2 separate regions of the Homo sapiens genome follow, and region 2 is linked to region 1. The links are contacts of gene promoters, found by promoter capture Hi-C in blood cells and fetal thymus (Javierre and others, 2016). All regions are on one chromosome and are shown on one strand. Each heading gives the region's core, a stretch centred on a gene start or on the middle of the fragment in contact. The rest is flanking DNA. Distances are from core to core; before and after follow the strand shown.

Evidence for each region. Contacts are between HindIII fragments. The CHiCAGO score rates a contact against its expected background, and 5 or more counts as called.
Region 2: the fragment with the promoter of FAAH here is called in contact with the fragment with the promoter of TSPAN1 in region 1 in 3 of 17 cell types (neutrophils, total B cells and non-activated CD4 T cells); the score reaches 8.5 in neutrophils.

Annotation. Positions count from the first base shown.
Region 1 is chr1:46,171,966-46,177,501 of GRCh38, reverse strand. TSPAN1 (tetraspanin 1) reads right to left here and starts at 2,415. Exons shown (of 9, transcript NM_005727.4): 1 at 2,093-2,415. P3R3URF-PIK3R3 (P3R3URF-PIK3R3 readthrough) reads left to right here and starts at 1,014. Exons shown (of 10, transcript NM_001303427.2): 1 at 1,014-1,274. The coding sequence starts at 1,031. P3R3URF (PIK3R3 upstream open reading frame) reads left to right here and starts at 1,014. Exons shown (of 2, transcript NM_001328655.2): 1 at 1,014-1,274; 2 at 1,873-2,016. The coding sequence starts at 1,031. The coding sequence ends at 1,916. It also overlaps a transcript of PIK3R3 not described here. The HindIII fragment of the contact is 4,826 bases long and covers 1,944-5,536 here.
Region 2 is chr1:46,389,817-46,395,810 of GRCh38, reverse strand. It overlaps FAAH (fatty acid amide hydrolase), which reads right to left and starts at 1,494. Exons shown (of 15, transcript NM_001441.3): 1 at 1,268-1,494. The coding sequence starts at 1,462. RefSeq lists an enhancer at 1,093-1,606. The HindIII fragment of the contact is 1,150 bases long and covers 572-1,721 here.

The DNA of each region.
Region 1 (5,536 bases), core at 1,166-3,665:
AGAAGGCTGTGATGTGCCTTATAGGGGAAATATGTGCTTTAGATAAGTTTCATTCAGGCACAAGTTATAATGCTGTTGGCTGTGAGTTCAATGTCAATGACTCAAATATAGATAGATAGTTAGATAGATAGATAGATAGATAGATAGATATATTTTTTTTTTTTTTGAGACAGAGTTTCACTCTTGTTGCCCAGGCTGGAGTGCAATGGTGCAATCTGGGCTCACTGCAATCTCCACCTCCTGGGTTCAAGCTATTCTCCTGTCTCAGCCTCCTGAGTAGCTGGGACTACAGGCACCCACCACCACACCCAGCTAATTTTTGTATTTTTAGTAGAGATGGGGTTTTGCCATGTTAACCAGGCTAGTCTTGAACTCCTGACCTCAGGTGATCTGCCCACCTCGGCCTCCCAAAGTGCTGGGATTACAGGCTTGAGCCACCATGCCTGGCCAACAATATATATTAAATAAGGTGTCTCCACACATAAAATCAGGTTATATGTATAGATCAGTTGACAAAAATATTGTGACCAGAGGGTTTCAGGAACCTAACCTTGCATTTACCCTTTGTTCAGTATTTAGTGTTTGTGGCGACTTTATAGAACATTACTGGGAATAATGAGAATTGACTGTATATAAATAGGTATAATGATGGCATATCCTTGTAAAGTAGCTGAGATTAAATGAGATAACGTTGGTAAAGTGCTCAGCACAGTGTCTGGCACGTAGTAAGTGCTCAAAAAACATTGTTAATATTGTTACTATATGGATAAGTGAGAAAGTGAGGAAGTGAGTTCCGCCTCTAGGGCCTCTTTTCCCAAGGGGCCAAACTGAGGCTGTCTGGCTCTTGGGCTGGCTTTTAGGCCAGACCCAATAAAGAAGATTGTGAAGGAGCCTGACCCATGAGGAGGGGCCAGGGCCCACGACTTGTAATAAAGGGCCCTGCCCTTATGCAGACTTTGTATGTCATAGAGGCCTCAGCTACCCTGGCCAACAGCACCCCCCAGGCACACTGCAGAAGCTCCCTGTGCCCATGGGGCCATCTCGGCTTGTCCGTGGCCCTCGGCCCCAGGGCATGCGTTCCCCCTACCGCAGGCCAGGTATGGGCTGGCCCAGGCCCCGATTTCCCAGGATGTTCAAGTGTAGCCGCAGAAGATATCAACAGGGTCTCCGAGGTCGAACTGCCAGCAGTGCAGCCATCAATCCTGCCACCAGGGCCATGGGTATCAACAACACCCACACTGACACCACCATAGTGTGGATCTTCCCACCTCAAGGTTAGCCAGGGGGCCTGTGAGCCAGGGTGGGGTTTTAAAAAACAGAGCCACTAGGCTGGGTGCGGTGGCTCATGCCTGTAATCCCGGCACTTTGGGAGGCCAAGGCGGGCAGATCACAAGGTCAGGAGATCGAGACCATCCTGGCTAACACGGTGAAATCCCATCTCTACTAAAAATACAAAAAAAAATTAGCCGGGCGTGGTGGCACACGCCTTTAGTCCCAGCTACTTGGGAGGCTGAGGCAGGAGAATTGCTTGAACCCGGGAGGCAGAGGTTGCAGTGAGCCAAGATCGCGCCACTGCACTCCAGCCTGGGTGACAGAGCTAGACTCTGTCTCAAGAAAAAAAAAAAAAAACCAGAGCCAGTGAAGATTTCCCTACCTGGTTCTGTTTAGGCACGCCAAAGGATGATCTCTGTGAAATAGCACCCCTACATATATGGGGGACTCCTGATGGCAGGCACCCCAAAGTGCTGACAGCCTTAATGGAGGATGGATTGGCTGGAAGCAGAGGGTTTGGGGAGGGGCTGAATCCAAGAGGCAGGGAACTTCCAGAACTGCTTCCTTCCTCAAACTCTTCCCTCTCCTTCCTCTCCTCAGTTCTCAGACATCTCAGGCAACCTGGGATTTTTCTGATCCTCTAGAAGTGCCCAGAAGCTAGCCCAGAAGCTTGGTTTGCCCTGGACCTGCATCTCCTAGGGGCCGTGTGGGTGGTGAACAACAAATACAGTCATTCTGCTCAAACTGCCTTATTCCACACAGAGGTGTTAACCAGCTGACTATGCAGGGCGTGAGGGGAGGGTTATGGCTGAATACTTACAGGGAAAGGCTTCAGTGACCGCAGCAGGGATCATAGTTTAAGACAGCAGGAGGACAGGACAAGGTCAGCAACATAGACCATCTTTGGTCTCAGCTCTTGATCTGCCCCATGAAGTAGGGGCTCTCTTGCCTTACACTCCTAACTGCACAGGGAGAAGGGTCTCTGTAAACATCTTGGAAGGTATTGGGAGGCACAGATCAGAGAGGGATAGGATGAAAGACTGAACCCTGAGAGTACACAAGTATGAGGTGGATGTGAGGTGGATGTGCCTCTGTGTGCCTGTGATGGTCAGCGTGTAGGTGTAGCTGCTGGTGTGTGTGTCTGAGGCCGGGAGAATAGGAGTATCAGTAGATGTGGCTGAATGTGCCTTTGTGATTTAATGTGCCTCTGTGACTGACTGTGAGTGTCAAGGAGCGTTTGTGAGGGTATGGGTGTGCCGGAGAGGACATCAGCCCTGGTAAGAAAAGTGAAGGTCAGGAGGGGGATGGGGAACAGCCTAAAGGAGGAGAACATGGAGAAGGGTGAGATTCTGAGAAAGGCATACTACCTTCGGCCCTTCAACCATTCTCTGAGGTCAGTGTTTTCCAGAACTGGCAGCTGAGCTGGGGTGCTTAGGGGTGGGGCAAGACTGAGTTTGAGCCCAGAAAGTAGGGAGGGTGCTAAGCTCTCTGGCCTGGGGATTTTCCATTTGGATTTCTGAGTGTGTGCTCATGTGTCACTGGCTGTAACCGGGTTTCTGTGGGGTTGTGTCTTAGTCGCTGGGAACATTTTGTAGGACTCTGTCTCGAATATGTTGCATCATGCATGGGCTAATACGTGTTGCACCGGTCCGAGATCTGGCTGCATTTCCAGGCTACCTTCCCAAGGGGCTAGGGAAGGGAGTGAACCCTGAGACCTTTGGTGGCCTGGCCCCCTGGGGTTCAGGAAGTGTGGCTAATGTCCTTTGCTGCCTGTGAAGGGAAAGTGAATTGTGCTTATGTCTATCTACCCCAACTCTTGCCAGAGACTGGGACCCTGAGGGGGGTTGAGGCAGAGAATTCACTGACACACCATGCCCAGACGGTGCTGGGCTCCTCAGGTTATGGGATGGGGGTTGCTGAACATCAGTCAAAGCTAGAAGGTGCTTGGGCCATGCTCAAGGGCCCAAGAGGGGCCATACATATAAAGATACATGACACAGTTCACAAACACATGCAGACATGTAAATATAAGTGAACTCATAGACACATACTGCAACAACCACACACATGCATGCAAGCACATACTATAAGCAGATATACGCAGACACAAATGCATAGATCCCCACACGATATATGTAACAACACATACGCATGCCTCTAAATGAACACAGACAGAAACATGCATGCACCCAGACACAAGCACACAAGCACCCAGATGCAGACACATGCCTTCACACTCATGCAAACCCAGGCACACACAGACATACACGCATGCAGACACACTCACCAGACTTCCCTGCCCCTGCGGCCCTGGGACCCAGAAGCCTCCCTCCCCTATATGAGTGTGTAGTATGTGTGTGTGCATGCACTCATGCCCACACTTGTGTCTGTGTGTATCTGTGTCTGTGAGAGTGTGTGTTTGTGCTCGAGTGTGTGTATGATGGGGGTGCTAAGCTGTGGGAACCAGATGACATCATCTCTTCCAGCTATTTTTAGCTGTATCTGCGATGATGGCTTCTTCACTGCCCCTCCCCCTTCAGGTTCCTAATTCTCCTCCCCATCTAGGCTCCCAGAGGCAGCAGCAGCCAGAGGGCACCCACCACCTCAGTTTAGGTGGCTCCCGGATGAGCGGGTGCAGCCCACTCTCTCCCACCCTGCCAGAGTTCCCTGGTGGCTGAGAACACCAGGCTCTCAGGCTGGAAGGGCCTGGGTTAGCTGAGCTGACCTAGATGGTCTCCACCCCTTAAGGTGCCTCTGCTTCTGCTTTTCAATCTGCAACTCTGTGTCAGTCAACAGTGCCTGCTATGTGCCAGGGATGGTACTAAATTCTGGAGATACAGCAGTGAGCAAGGCAGTGGGAGTTCTTTCCCAGAGGAATTATAGCTCAGTGAGAGGCACATTACACAGATTACACAAGCTCTTCATTAAATCGTGAGGAGGTCTCTGAGTACTTGTAACAGGGGCTCCGTTTGCGATGATGTTCTCTGCCTCTCTCTGTTCTTCCTTCTCCCATAGGTGAGATAACCTGAGGAAATCAGAGGGAATACAGCCCTTACCTTGCACCCTTCATCCTAACAACCATATCTCCAGAATTCCACAGAGCAGTGCTTCCTTCTCACACCCTAGGCTGTGCTCCCAACATGGCACTAACACACCATCCAACTAATTGGTGGCCCATGATACTCATATCTCCTTTTTCTTTGTTTGTTTGTTTCTTTTTTCTTTTCTTTTTTTTTTGAGACAGCGCCTGGCTCTGTTGCCCAGGATAGAGTGCAGTGGCGCAATCTTGTCTCACTGCAACCGTCTTCTCCCAGAGTCAAGTGATTCTCGTGCCTCAGCCTCCCTAGTAGCTGGGACTACAGGCATGTGCCACCATGCCTGGCTAATTTTTGTATTTTTAGTAGAGATGGGGTTTTGCCATGTGGGCTAGGCTGGTCTTGAACTCCTGGCCTAAAGTGATCCATCTACCTCAGTCTTCCAAAGTGCAGGGATTACAGGCATGAGCCACCTGGCTCAGCCCTTTCCCCTGCCTAGTTTTTAGGGACAGGGTCTCTCTCTGTCACTCATACTGGAGTGCAGTGACCTGACCTTAGCTCACTGCAGCCTCAGTCTCCTGGGCACAATCTATCCTCCCACCTCAGTCCCACAAGTAGCTGGTACTACAGGTGCAGGCCACCACGCCTAGATAATTAAAACATTTTTTTTGTAGAAACAGGTTCTCCCAGCTACTCAGGAGGCTGAGGCACGAGAATTACTTAAACCTGGGAAGTGGAGGTTGCAGCCAAGATCATGCCACTGCACTCCAGTTCTTGGGCTCAAGTGATCCTCCCGCCTCAGCCTCCCAAAATGTTGGGATTACAGACGTGAGCTACTGCTTGCCCCCTACCACCTCACTTTTCTTTGAAATCTTCCTGTAGTCAATCCCTGGGAGGCAGGCCACTATTCCTCATCTATAGATGAGAAAACCGAGGCTCAGAAATGGACAGCTCTGGACCACACCTCACAGTGCCTGGGGAGCAGCCCAGGGGAGATGGCAGGCAGGTGGAGAAGGAAGTGGTGGCACACTGGGACAGTTGGCACAGGTGCAGGAGGAGCAGGCCAGGCCAAGCCACCGAATCGGGAGGTGAGGGGGAGGAGGATGATGGCCTGAGGGTTCATGCCAGGAGGAGGGCTTCCCGCTCCAGCCAGCCTCAGGCAGCCACTGGAAAATCGGGTTTGGCAGCTTCAGCCATGTGCTGCAGGACTGGAAGAAGGTCCAGGCTGC
Region 2 (5,994 bases), core at 245-2,744, 220 kb before region 1:
CTCCTGTTCCTCTCCACGAAAGTGTGGCTGCAGAGTGCAGCGGGCACCTAGGTTCTAGTTCCAGCTCTGCCCCAACTCAAAAATCACTTGCGGAACATCTGCTGAACACAATTTTCTGTGACTCTTTCTGTCTCCCACCCAGGCACACCCTCCTGAGTCCTGCGGTTCCCAACCTGTAAAGCCTTCCCACCTGTCAGGTCCCACAGATACAGCAAGCCCTCCCTCTCTCAGCACATAAGAAGGCTTTAACTGGGGTCAGTGTTTCACACACCCAGAGGAAAAGCCCCTCTTCAAGCCACATCTTCCAAACCCTCAGCCAGGCCCTTCCACGCCTCCAAACCCACATACTGAGGTGATCCAAAGGCAGCGCAGGGAGAAAAGCTTGTTGACAGACCACCCACGGAGGGCTGGAACTAAACCTGCTCATGGAAAGGGCTTGCCAGGGGTTGGACACCACAGCAGGAGCCAGAGAGACTTCCCTTCTAGCCTGGCTTTGCCAAGATCTCCCTGTGCACTTGGCAGGTTTCTTTCTGGCTCCCTCTTAGGATCCAAATGCACAAATCAAGAAGCTTGAACTCAGCCAGGCGCGGTGGCTCACGCCCAGCACTTTGGGAGGCCGAGGCAGGTGTATCAACTGAGGTCAGGCGTTTGAGATCAGCCTGGCCAACATGGTGAAACCCAGTCTCTACTAAAAATGCAAAAATTAGCCAGGCGTAGTGGCGGGCCCCTGTAATCCCAGCTACTGGGGATGCTGAGGCAGCAAGAATCGCTTGCACCCGGGAGGCGGAGGTTGCAGTGAGCCGAGATCGCACCACTGCACTCTTGCCTGGGAGTCAGAGCGAGACTCCGTCTCAAAACAAAACAAAAAAAAACAAAAAACAAAACTCTAAGCTCTCCAGATCCCCTTGGCCATTACACTCTGCGATTCCAAAGTCCTCAACCCCTGGCATCCCACTGGTTGTCACGCTTGCGTTTTCGCATTCCAATAGGCAGCAATCGTGAGATTCTTTGGCACAAAGCAAAACTCCTCTTTGACCCAGTGAGGGAAAGGCCTTCCACCACCTGCCTTGACACTACCGTTTCCTTTCTTCCCCCGTGCTCTACCTGGCTCAGAAAGTGCGGAATATCTTAGGGCAAGGAGAGATTCTGGAGAGTTACACATCTGCTCTGCCCGCCCCATCCCCTGTCCCTCGGCGGGTCCGGCGGCTGAAAGTGCCGCTGCGAGTACCCTCAGGCCGCGCCCATCCCACTACGCTCCGGCAGTCACCTGGAGCCGGAAGCGCTGCGCCGCCCTGTCCATGTTCTCCAGGCCCGCTCGCTGCCTCTGTCGCGCCCGGACCACCGCGCCCCGCGCCGTCCGGCGCCCGGACCAGCGCAGGGCCACGGCCGCCGCCACGAAGCAGCAGGCCAGGGCGACCCCGGAGGCGCCAGGCAGCGCGGCCCACAGCTCGTACTGCACCATGATCCCTTCAGCCTGCTGCTGCCTACCGCGACAGTTGAAGCCGCCGCACGCGCAGCCCGCCCGCTCCGCCGCAAAACCCGGACTGGATCAGCCGGGATCCCACGCCCGCCTGCGCGGGAGGGGCGGGGAAGCGCGCCAGAGCCTAGAGGCTATCAGAGGCGGCCCGCCTGGCATCGCCCCCAGCGACATCCCGCTCCCCGCCAAGCCGAGCAGGCGGGTGGGGAAGGGCGACTGTTTCTCGTGGGCGACCTCCCAAGCTTGAGTTTAGCACCGGTTGGGCACCACAGCCCCGGCCGTCCTCTGCCCCCTGCACCCCAGAGCCCCAAATGCTGAAGACTGCGCCCCAGCCGGAGCCCCATGCCAGACATGCCAGCTGTTAGATATGAGTTCTAAATTTATCTTAAAAGAATCAATATGTCAGTATCTTCAATTCTTTGCCTTCTACTTTTAAACTTAACTTCCTCATAAAGCAACATTTTTCGATTACCTGCTCCTCCCTCACTCATTCTTCACCGTGGTTCATTCCGATTTCCTGCTCTGCGGTAACCATTTTTCCCGCCAAACCACTCACCCCCTCACTGTCTTTAAATTAGCCAATCGGAATTAGTTTAGCCTATAGGTCTAACCCTAGCCAACAGGGGAAGGACACAGCATCAGGAATCACGTGGGTCAGGCATAAGAACCACCTTCCCCTCCCTTGTCCAGGTGTGCGCTCACCTTTGCTCCGTCTGTGAGGGCGCACCCTTCTATAGAAGTAAATTGCCTTGCTGAGAAGAAAAAAAAGAAAATTTTATATTCGAGTGCTATTTCTTTTGCGGCACTGGGGGGAAACTTTATTTATAACAATTTGGGGGCTTGCTCGTGATTACATTCCCCTTCAGGGGCAGTCTCTGGTTCTCTCTCCTGAGGAGGTATGCCCCACCCTCTTGTGATGGCCTCAGGGGTGAGAAATCAGGACTCACCCAGTGCAAGAAATAACCTGAGCTCTCAGCAATGTGAAAAGAAACCAGCAGGCAACCTAGGGTAAAGCATCCTCACACACTGCAGAGACAACTCTGTGCACAGACAAAGGAAGAAGCCGAGGGAGCCGGTAAGGTACTTCCTTGGTGGTCAAATTCTGGAGGGCTAAATGTGTGTGTGCGTGAATGATCACAAACAACCCTACCTGTGGTGTTGTTCGTGTGGATGATGACAAGTCCTACTGCTGGACGGAGTGAGTGGGTCCTCTCCACGTTTCCGTAGCTACCTCATATGGCTTAGGGAGGATCCTGCGGTGGGATTTCTACTGGAATGCCAATGCTGAGGGGGGCCTAATTCTCCCTTGGGGGAGCAGCCAGAGAGGACAACACGAGTGGGAAGTGTGCAAAGGACCTTCAGAGGGGGAAAGGGAGGAAACAGGTCAACCTTCCAGGGAAGCAAGGCAAGACACCTCCTAGTTTGAGGGATTGAGCCTTCCAGGGCAGCAAGGCAAAACACCCCCTGGTTTGAGGGGTTGAGCCTTCCAGGTCAGGCAAGGCAAGATACCCCCTGGTTTGAGGTGTTGAGCCTTCCACAAATTTCAGGGGATCAAAAACCTCACACAAACCTCCGGTAGTAAGAAAAATATTCAGAATTCCCCTTTCCTTTCTTCTCGGGGAAGAAAAAGTAGCTGCACTCCTGACGGTCCCTTCCCTAGGGGAAGGGGAAGGAGAGGGGAGAACAGCAGCATAAGCAGCTGGCAGAGGCAGGGAAAGACCAGCAGAGAGGAAAGAGAAACTGGGAGAGGAAGTTGGAGAGAAAGAGAGAGGCAAAGAGAGAGAAAGAGAGGCAGAGAGAGAAAGAGACAGAAAGACAGAAGCCAGGCGTGGTGGCTCATGCCTGTAATCCCAGCACTTTGGGAGGCCAAGGCCGGTGGATCACGAGGTCAGGAGATCAAGACCATCCTGGCTAACACCGTGAAACCCCATCTCTACTAAAAATACAAAAAAATTAGCCAGGCGTGGTGGCGGGCGCCTGTAGTCCCAGCTACTCAGGAGGCTGAGGCAGGAGAATGGCGTGAACCTGGGAGGCGGAGCTTGCAGTGAGCCGAGATCGCGCCACTGCACTCCAGCCTGGGTGATAGAGCTAGACTCTGTCTCAAAAGAAAAAGAGAGAGAGAGAGGGAGTCAGAGACAGGGAAAGAGAGAGAGAGTCAAAGAGAGAGAGAGAGAAAGAGAGATAGAAGTAGTAAAGAGAAAACAGTGTACCCTATTCCTTTAAAAGCCAGGATAAAATTCAAAACCTGTAATTGATAATTGAAGGTCTTCTCCATGACCCTATAACACTCCAATACCACCTTGTTGTCAGTGTAAACAAGGATGTAGCCCAAAAGCACTGAGGCCACTGACAACCCGTAACCTCCCTAATCAAAACTCCTTAACCCAGTAACCGGCAGATGGCCCAAATGCATTCAATCTGTAGCAGCAACTGCTTTGCTAACAGAAGAAAGTAGAAAAACAACTTTTAGAGGAAACCTCATTGTGAGCACACCTCATCAGGTCAGAACTATCCTAAGTCAAAAAAAAAAAAAGGTAGCTTACTGACTCAAGAACCTTAAAGTATGAGGCTGTTCTGTTAGAAAAAAATGATTTAATATTAACCACTGAAAATTCCCTTAACCCAGCAGGTTTCCTAACATGGGATCTAAATCTTAATTAATTACCATACAAAGGTCCGACCAGACCTAGGAAGAACTCCCTTCAGGACAGGATGATAGATGGTTCCTCCTGGGTAATTGAGGGAAAAAGACACAATGGGTATTCAGTAAGTGATAAGGAAACTCTTGTAGAAGCAGAGTTAGGAAAATTGCCTAATAATTGGCCTGTTCAAATGTGAGAGCTGTTTGCACTCAGCCAAGCCTTAAAGCACTTACAGAATCAGGAAGGACCCATCTATACCAATTCTAAGTTAATATGGACTGAATGAGGTCTTATTAATAGCAAAGAATAGTTGAAATTCCAAACTTAAAATGTTTTCAACAAAAGTTAAAAAAAAAAAGTGAAAAAATGGCTACCCTCTTTGGGTCCCCTCCCTTTGTATGGGAGCTCTGTTTTCACTCTATTAAATCTTGCAACTGCACTCTCTTCTGGTCCGTGTTTGCTATGGCTGGAGCTGAGCTTTCGCTCGACATCCACTGCTGTTTGCTGCCATCGCAGACCCGCCGCCGACTTCCATCCCTCTGGATCCGGCAGGGTGTCTACTGTGCTCCTGATCCAGCGAGGCGCCCATTGCCGCTCCCAATCAGGCTAAAGGTTTGCCATTGTTCCTGCACGGCTAAGTGCCCAGGTTCATCCTAATCAAGCTGAACACTAGTCACTGGGTTCCACAGTTCTCTTCCATGACCCACGGCTTCTAATAGAGCTATAAAACTCACCGCATGGCCCAAGATTCCATTCCTTGGAATTCGTGAGGCCAAGAACCCCAGGTCAGAGAACACCAGGCTTGCCACCATCTTGGAAGCGGCCCGCCACCATCTTGGGAGCTCTGGGAGCAAGGACCCCCCAGTAACATTTGGCGACCACGAAGGGACCTCCAAAGCAATGGGAAACGTTCCCCACAAGGCAAAAACGCCCCTAAGATGTATTCTGGAGATTTGGGACCAATTTGACCCTCAGACGCTAAGAAAGAAATGACTTATATTCTTCTGCAGTACCACCTGGCCATGATATCCTCTTCAAGGGGGAGAAACCTGGCCTCCTGAGGGAAATATAAATTATAACACCATCTTACAGTGAGACCTCTTTTGTAGAGAAGAAGGCAAATGGAATGAAGTGCCATATGTACAAACTTTCTTTTCATTAAGAGACAACTCGCAATTATGTAAAAAGTGTGATTTATGTCCTACAGGAAGCCCTAGAGTCTACCTCCCTACCCTGGTGTCCCCCCGACTCCTTCCCCAACTAATGAGGACCCCCCTTCAACCCAAACGTCCAAAAGGAGATAGACAAAGGGGTAAACAATGAACCAAAGAGTGCTAATATTCCCCAATTATGCCCCTCTCCAAGCAATGGGAGGAGGAGAATTCGGCCCAGCCAGAGTGCATGTACCTTTTTCTCTCTCAGACTTAAAGCAAATTAAAATAGGCCTAGGTAAATTCTCAGATAACCCTGATGGCTATATTGATGTTTTCCAAGGGTTAGGACAATCCTTTGATCTGACATGGAAAGATATAATGTTATTGCTAAATCAGACACTAAACCCAAATGAGAGAAGTGCTGCCATAACTGCAGCCCGAGAGTTTGGTGATCTCTGGTATCTCAGTCAGGTCAATGACAAGATGACAACAGAGGAAAGAACGATTCCCCACAGGCCAGCAGGCAGTTCCCAGTGTAGACCCTCACTGGGACACAGAATCAGAACATGGAGATTGGTGCAGCAGACATTTGCTAACTTGCGTGCTAGAAGGACTAAGGAAAACTAGGAAGAAACCTATGAATTATTCAATGATGTCCACTATAATACAGGGAAAGGAAGAAAATCCTACTGCCTTTCTGGAGAGACTAAGGGAGGCATTG